2 separate regions of the Homo sapiens genome follow, and region 1 is linked to region 2. Evidence: promoter capture Hi-C in human tissues and cell types (Jung and others, 2019). All regions are on one chromosome and are shown on one strand. The core of a region is centred on a gene start or on the middle of the fragment in contact, and the rest is flanking DNA. Distances in the headings are between cores, read along the strand shown. Region 1 overlaps CLTCL1 (clathrin heavy chain like 1). Region 2 holds the start of DGCR2 (DiGeorge syndrome critical region gene 2).

Region 1 (4,120 bases), core at 1,562-4,061, 160 kb after region 2:
AGTGAAGCCAGAATGCTTAAGTTGCACTGAACATCCCCATGTTTTCACACCTATGTGGACACCAATATTTTTTCTTTCTGTATCTGTCTCCTTCCCAGTCTCACTCACTGCTTTATCCTTGTGCCTAGCATATGGATGGTAAACAAATAGTAAAACAAATTACTTGTTTCAGGGCAGTAAAATTTAGTTCATCTACAGTTTTTAAAACATACTTTGAGGGCCTGGCGTGGCTGCTCACGCCTGTAATACCAGCACTTTGGGAGGCCGAGGCGGGTGGATCACCTGAGGTCAGGAGTTGGAGACCAGCCTGGCCAACATAATGAAACCCCATCTCTATAAAAATACAAAAATCAGCTGGGTGTGGTGGCGGGCACCTATAATCCCAGCTACCTGGGAGGCTGAAACAGGAGAATCACTTGAACACGGGAAGCGGAGGCTGCAGTGAGCCAAGACCACGCCATTGCATTCCAGCCTGGGCAACAAGAGTGAAACTCTGTTTCAAAAAAATAAATGGGCTGGGTGCAGTGGCTCACACCTGTAATCCCAGCACTTTGGGAGGCTGAGGTGGGCGGATCACGAGGTCAAGAGATTAAGACCATCCTGGCCAACATGGTGAAACCCCATCTCTACTAAAAATACAAAAATTAGCCAGGCATGGTGGCACGCACCTGTAGTCCGAGCTACTCAGGAGGCTGAAGCCAGGAGAATCGCTTGAACCGGGGAGGCAGAGGCTGCAGTGAGCTGAGATCATGCCACTGCACTCCAGCCTGGTGGACAGAGCGAGACTCTGTCTCAAGAAAATAAAATAAAAAACACATTTTATATTTGAAACACGCTGGGCGCGGTGGCTCACGCCTGTAATCCCAGCACTTTGGGAGGCCGAGGCAGGCGGATCACAAGGTCAGGAGATCGAGACCATCCTTGCTAACACGGTGAAACCCTGTCTCTACTAAAAATATAAAAAATTAGCTGGACGTGGTGGTGGGTGCCTGTAGTCCCAGCTACTCGGGAGGCTGAGGCAGGAGAATGGCGTGAACCCTGGAGGCAGAGGTTGCAGTGAGCCGAGATTGTGCCACTGCACTCCAGCCTGGGCAACAGAACAAGACTCCATCTTAAAAAAAAGAAAAAGAAAAAGAAAAAGAAACTTACCAAAGAGCCTTTCCTAGCCTAAAGAGGGAGCTCTGTAAATGAGGGCCTATGAAGAATGTTGACACTAAGGTCTCTTCCAGAACTTACATTCCAGGAGTAGGTTAGTTCAGGGATAGTTAACTACATTTATATAATGCTTTACAGAACTTCTCTCAAATTACACTATTACAGGTTTTCTTTATTTTAACACCAGTGCACAAGACTCTATATTTATCCCAGTTAAATGTCAACTAGCTGGATTCTGGCCTGTCAAGATATATCCGATTCTAATTTCATCACTGAACTTTGCTATCCCAGCTTTGTGGCATCCTTCTTCAGCCTGCCAAGAGTGATGGTCATCTCTCTGGCATGGAGGCCAGCAGCAGGCCTCAAGAGAAGTGGAAGAAAATGTGGGAGAAGAGCCTGCAAACTCAGTAAAGTCTCAGTGAAGAAGCAAAGGAAGGAAAAATCAGACAGATTGCAGAAAGATTCCCCCTTAGAGAAGGGGGTGACAGGGTGCCAGCAACTACTACCCTAGGGAATACTGATAAACAACATGTCAGATAGATGCAGTGATCTGTCTGTGATCCTATGGGAGGATCTTCAGTGTGTTAAGTTACAAAAGCAAAGGGCAGAAGCATATTTAAAGCAGGATTCTTTTGAACATTTTTGGAAGGATATGGTGGCTTCGTTTATAGTGGTTTCCCCTGGGGAGAGACAGACAGAGGCTGAACTGAAAGATTTTAATTCCCATCAGACTAGCCCCTGCAACAGAAATATCTCAGCAGAGAGGAACCTTGACTCAGATCCTCCTAGGACTTAATTCTTTCAACCCAACCAACTAAAAAAGCACTGGTTTGTGTAGCTTAGGCATTCTGAACATTTAAATGTTCTATGGTGAAGATCTGTTTTTCCAAAGAGTCCCCATTCAAATTCATTTACTCTTTGGTCACCCACAATGCCACAGCGGTAGGTACTCCCACAAGGCTCACCCTCGCAGACACCCTGGCTGAGGCAGGTTACTCTCCTTGCTTTGTAAATAAACAAGTCAGAAGGCAACTAACTGGCCAGTATGTATTTCCAATACCAGAAGCAGTGGTAGGCCAACAGGCAAAATTTAACAGTTTACATGGTATCTTAAAATGACATTTTACATGGGATGCAATAATTTTAGGATGCAATGAGCCAACTGCTGTCTTAGTACATCAAAAACCACTTCACAAAATGAGATAGCTACATAATGGCAACATAAACCAAATATGGACTGGATTACTATGGGTACGTGTCCCTTTTTGGAGCATGACCCCCAGAAGCCTCTCCAGACACACACGGGTGTGTGTGGATGGGAACTGTTTTCAGTTCAAGCTCAATCTACACCTTCACAGTTTTACTTTCCCCCCTCTTTCCTTAATGATTAATATTGACTAACATGTAGAAGGCTGTTTCACCTGGGCTGTGTGTAAGACTCACCTGGGAAGGAATACCAAAGCTCCATCTCCACCACTCAGAGCTTTGGATTTAACATCCAGCAGAAATATGTTTAAGGCTGCAGGCCATTCTCACATGCAGCCTAGGTAGAGAAGCACTGATTAAGATCTTGACCATCTTTCTCCTACAATTCTAATGCTCAAGGTCTCTACACCTGTTTCAAACACCGCCTCAGAGACACTTTGAGGGAACATGTTTACGTTTTCTGTGTATTGAGCTATGACACATTTCACAGCTTACAAACTTGGAGCTGCTTTTTTGATATAGCTGGGGGGAATTACTTAGGGCTCAAGAAAATTTTTATGTCACCAAACTATTCAGCCATTCCTCTTCTGAATCAAGATGTCTTAAGTGCTCAGCCCATCCTCAGATATTACAAACAGCAATACCCTTCCAACTCTCACATTTGAATATTTCTAAAAAGTTCAAATGGTAGCTCCCTGAGCTCACAATCCAGCAGAGAAAATGAACAGCTACAGTACCCTGGGAAGAGTGTCATTATAAGAGGAACCCCAAAGAGGCACAGAGGAAGAACTCCTAACTGACAAATCAGGGAGAGCTTCCAGAGACAGCGTCATTTCCACAGATACCAGAAGGCTCAGTAGGAGTCAGTGAGTAAAGAGGGGTGAGAGGAGAATGTGTTTTGGCAAGGACACAAAGGGAGCGGCAGCAGAGTTGAGCAGGTGTTGGGCTGGGAAGAACAGGAAAGAGCACGTGGGGATCAGTCTTTTCATGCCAGAGGAAACACGAAACCACTCCCTGAAGGACTTTAAGCAGATGCTCATCCTTGGAGATCATGTTGCCTGTGTGCTGGAGAATGGATCACAGGAGGGCAAGACTAGAAGTAGAAGGACAAAGCTAGCATGACCATCAAGGTGGGGAGGGATGGCATAGTTTAGGGAAACGGTAGTCATGATGACAGTGGCAGAACGATGCCAAAAGTAAACAGGAGAAAGGGACAACAGGATGGGGAAAACACATCCCAGGCTCCTGGCTGGACACTGGACAAGATACACATCTGGGGAGAAAGGGAACCCCATTTATGAACACTGTGTTTGAGGAACCTGCTGACCATTTCCTGGCCTTCTTCAGTAGGCAGCTGTCACAATGGCAGCAACAGCTCACAAGGACACAGTGCTTTACAGTAGTCCCTTCTTATCCGTGGTTTTTTTCACACTGTTACCTATAGTCTGAAAATATTAAATGTAAGACCCCAGAAATAAACAATTCATAAGTTTTAAATTGCATACCATTCTGCAGAGTGATGAAATCTTGCACCAGCCCACCCAGGACGTGAATTATCCCTCCTCTGCCCAGCATATCCACGCTGTAGACATTGCCAGCCCATTAGTCACTTAGTAGCGGTCAGTTACCAGGTTGACTGTTGCAGCATCACAGAGTTTGTGTTCAAGTAACCCTTAATTTACTTAATAATGGCCCCAAAGTCCAACAGTAGTGATGCTGGCATATTGTTATTATTGTTCTGTTTTATTATTAGTTATCA
Region 2 (3,938 bases), core at 792-3,291:
ACACTCCAGGGTATTCAACACACAGGAGTGTGACAAGTGACTTACACCTGGCCTCTGTTCCACATCAGGCACTCCTAAAAGGAGGGGCTTGTTCTTGTCACTTGGATTCCCTAGGGATGGGCAGGGGGCAAGCACCCACAGGCACTTTCTCAGTTGCTGCTGGCCAGTTGGCAGGCTATGTGAAAAGGCTGGCAAGGAAAAAGGAGTCGGGGACGTCAGTCACCTCTATCACCCAGGCAGGAGATGCTGGGCCTGGAACCAGAGGCACCCCAAAGAAGCCAGGCATAATATGGCCTCACCTGAGCCCGGTGACCTCATCTGCAAAACTGGGACTCAAGAATCAGAAAACGGTGACCTTCTACCTCTCTACACGTACATATATGTTTTCTAAAGAAGTTAATCACAAGAATCCACAAACCCATTGGTTCTGACCTCCAAGAGCCTATATGATACCCTCCTCCACAGGTAGCCCTTTTCCTGGCTTCTGTTCTTACCAAGGCCACCCCACAACTAGTCATCCCGCTGCCCAGAGAGCAGCCAAAAGCAGTGAGCAACTAGCTCTACATGGGGAGACCAGAGAAGCATCACTGAATCTGTCCAGGTTGAGCACCGGTCAGGGCCTTGGCCACCAGGCAGGCACTAGGGAGGAGGCAGACATTCCACATAGATGACACAAGCGCAGAGCCAAGAGGTGCGGTGTATCTGGGCTGGGAGCCTGGCTAGGGCACAGGAGAGGGCCACACACCCCGTGCTCCCACACCCAGGTCATCAGAGAAGATGGCCCTGGCACTTCTGCCTTCATGGGACCTTTCCTCCATTAAGAAATATTAAGAGTCATGCTTTTTCACTGTATTAGTATAAAGATGACTGTATTAATATACATACGAAAACATTTTATTTGACCTAAAAGTTCATTTTTTTTCTGCTGACTTTAAAAAAAAATAAAATAACATTCGAAGGCTACTAAAAGTACCGTGGGCAAGTGATACCAGGATTCCTGTGCCTGATGGATACATCGGCCCTGCATTTAGGGAGTTTGATTTTTTGGTGCAGTTCAAGGGGAGGTACACCGAAATAGGTAGAAAAGGGTCTCCTGGTTGCCACGGTTCTGATTCCCCACCACAGACTTAAGAACACACTAGCTCCGAGGGGAGTTCCAAAGCACGGACTCATTCATCACATACACGCAGCACGGCTAAGGGCCCCGCACAGTGGCGAGGTCTCTGCTCCCGGGACGCTCGCGCCGGCCACACAACGCTAGGCTGACTCCTGGTGCCTCCTCTAGGCCCGGTGGGACCTGAGGACTTCCTTAGCGCAACGTCTCACTGAATGACAGCCACAACCACCGCTGTCCAGGCGAGGAGTTTCCAGGACTGAGAGGCTGGCACTAGGCCACTGCTGGGAGGACGTCTGTGAAACCAGGTGCCCCTGAGAGCCACTGTCCCCAGCCCGACTCCGACGCTGGACTGGCGAGAGGGTGCGCCCGTGGCGTAGCTCCTGGCCGCCGCCGCTCCCGGGAAGGGCCCAGAGGCAACATCCTGGACAGCAGAGCTGCACGAAGTCCGAGGCGCCGCGAGCCCAGGTAAGCTCCAGCAGGCGTCCGCAGAGAGTGCCAGGCGGCCCGCGAGCCAGGCCCCGCCCGCCCCTGCCCCAGGCGCGGCCCCTGCAGGAGGGCGCCGCGGGTGAAAGGAGGTCCCGGGGCGACCCCGGCCCCGCTCGCCGCCCAGCCCCCACACCGCCCCCATCGCGCGGCGCACCTGGCCGCAGCGGCTCGGTGACAGTGAGCACGAGCAGGAAGAGCAGCAGGAAGGCGCCGCTGTCTGCCTTGGGCACCATTTATCCTCCGTTCATCGTCCCCGGGGCGGCTGGAAGGCCGGACCAGGCCGGACTGAGGGTCAGGGGACCGTGCCAAGCGGAGGGTCAGGCGGAGCTGAACCTGGGCGAGGCGCGGAGAGGCGGCGGGAAAGAGCTTCGGCTGGGCCGCGGGCTGGCGCACACTCTCGGCTGCAACCTCAGGCACCGACTCCAGCTGCGCGCAAGATGGCGGCCGTCCTGCTCGGCTCCGCGCCGCGCCGCCCCGCCCCGCCTCCCGCCCGCGACGCAGGCGCGGGCCAATGACCGTCAAGATGGGGGGCGGGGCCAGAGCCAAAGCCCTCCGAAGAGGGTGAGGCCTAAGGTCGCGACGGCGGAGGGCGGGGACCTAAGGGCGGGGACTGAGGGGCGGGCTCTAAGGGAAGGGCGGGACCATACGGAGTGAGGCGTGCCATTGGTTAAGCAGAGAGGCAGGGCCGGGGCCGGGGCCTGAGCGGCGGGGCCACCGAAGGGAGTAGGGTCTCTGGACGCCGGTTAGGGACGGCGGGCGCGGGACGGCAAGGATGGACATCGAAAGGCGCGGGGCATGGGGCGGGGCGCCGAGGGGTCGCGCGGGTGGGGAGCGGAGAGAACGAAGTGGGAACCTGGCTGGGACTCCAAGGGTCTTCACACCTGCAAGCTCAGGTCCCGTGAGCAGCCCAAAAGTGCGCCCCAAAGGGGTCTTTTTAAGGCCGAACCGCTGTGGAGGAGGGAGGGCCTGCCGGTTCTGAGGGTGGGGAAAGAGGAACAGGAATGGCCTAAGAGAGTGTCAGGCAAAGAGAGACCGGGAAGGCCAGGTCCTGGAGACTGCAGCGAAGCCGGCTCCCTGGAGGACCTGCCTACACAATGGCTAGGGGAAGGCCACATGTGCAGGAAAGAAAGCTAGGCAGAGAGGAGGCTCAGCGCCCCTGCGAACAGTGCTCCAAGTGCCACTTCTCCCGTCATCACCAACAGGGTGAACCTTGGAGGGCAGTGTCGGCGAAGAGTCCAACTCTGTAAAATATTTGAAGACATTTCTTCTGAGCCAATATGTGACCAATAGCCTGGGACACAGCCCCAGGAGATCCTGACAAGTGCCCAAGGGGGTAGGGCCACAGCTTGGTTTTATACATTTTAGGGAGACAAGACATCAATCAGCACATGTAAGATATACATTGGTTCAGTCGGAAAAGGCGGGACAACTTGAAAGTGGGGGGTGGAGGGGGGCTTCTAGGTCATGCGGATTGGCAGTTGGTTCAAAGAGTTTATCTAAAGACCTGGAATCAATAAAAGGGACTGTCTACATTAAGGGGTTGTGGAGACCAAGTTTCTTAGGCAAATGAAGCCTCCAGGTATCAGGCTTCACAGAGAAAAGACTGTTAATGTTTCTTATTAAAAAGTGCCAGACTCTGCCGGGTGTGGTGGCTCACGCCTGTCATCCCAGCACTTTGGGAGGCCAAGGCGGGCGGATCACCTGAGGTCAGGAGTTCAAGATCAGCCTGGCCAACATGGTGAAACCACATCTCTACTAAAAATACAAAAGTTACCCAGGCGTGGTGGCACACGCCTGTAATCCCAGCTACTCAGGAGGCTGATGGCAGGAGAATCGCTTGAACCGGGGAGGCAGAGGTTGCAGTGAGCCAAGATCATGCCACTGCACTCCAGCCTGGGCAACAGAGTAAGACTCTGTCTCAAAAAAAAAAAAAAAAAAAAGGAAAAAAAAAAGGAAAAATAAATAAAAGGTGCCAGACTCTAGTTAATTCTCTCAGGAGAAAAGACCTTGAAAGGGATAGGGATTCTCTACAGAATGTAGATTTTCCCCACAAAAAACAGCTTTGCAGAGCGACTTCAAAATATGTGAAAGAAACCTGTTTTGCAGTAAAATATGTGTTTCCTTCCGGGCCTGCTGTCATGCTGGTATCTTACTGCCACAGAGTCTGTTGTCAGTCTTCAAGTCTCTGTGTCGATGTTACACTGCTTAGCTGTGCCTGAAACCTGAAGGGAGGAGGGATAATGAGGCCTGACTCCCACTTCCTATCACGGCCTGAAATAGTTTTTCAGGTTAAGTTTGGAATGCCCTTGGTGGAGAGGAGGGGTCCATTCAGATG

Evidence for each region. The method cuts DNA at HindIII sites, captures the fragments that hold promoters and counts their contacts. A contact is called where the count stands out against the background at its distance.
Region 1: a contact is called between a fragment that was not itself captured here and the fragment with the promoter of DGCR2 in region 2, in 1 of the 25 tissues and cell types used here (spleen).

What each region holds. Positions count from the first base shown.
Region 1 is chr22:19,284,161-19,288,280 of GRCh38, forward strand. All of the region lies in intron 1 of CLTCL1 (clathrin heavy chain like 1), which reads right to left. Among named protein-coding and RNA genes, the nearest start is that of CLTCL1, 5.5 kb to the right of the region's middle. The HindIII fragment of the contact is 5,026 bases long and covers 299-4,120 here.
Region 2 is chr22:19,120,371-19,124,308 of GRCh38, forward strand. DGCR2 (DiGeorge syndrome critical region gene 2) reads right to left here and starts at 2,042. Exons shown (of 10, transcript NM_005137.3): 1 at 1,758-2,042. The coding sequence starts at 1,836. RefSeq lists an enhancer at 1,401-1,902 and silencers at 1,687-1,806, 1,927-2,366. The HindIII fragment of the contact is 22,645 bases long and covers 1-3,938 here.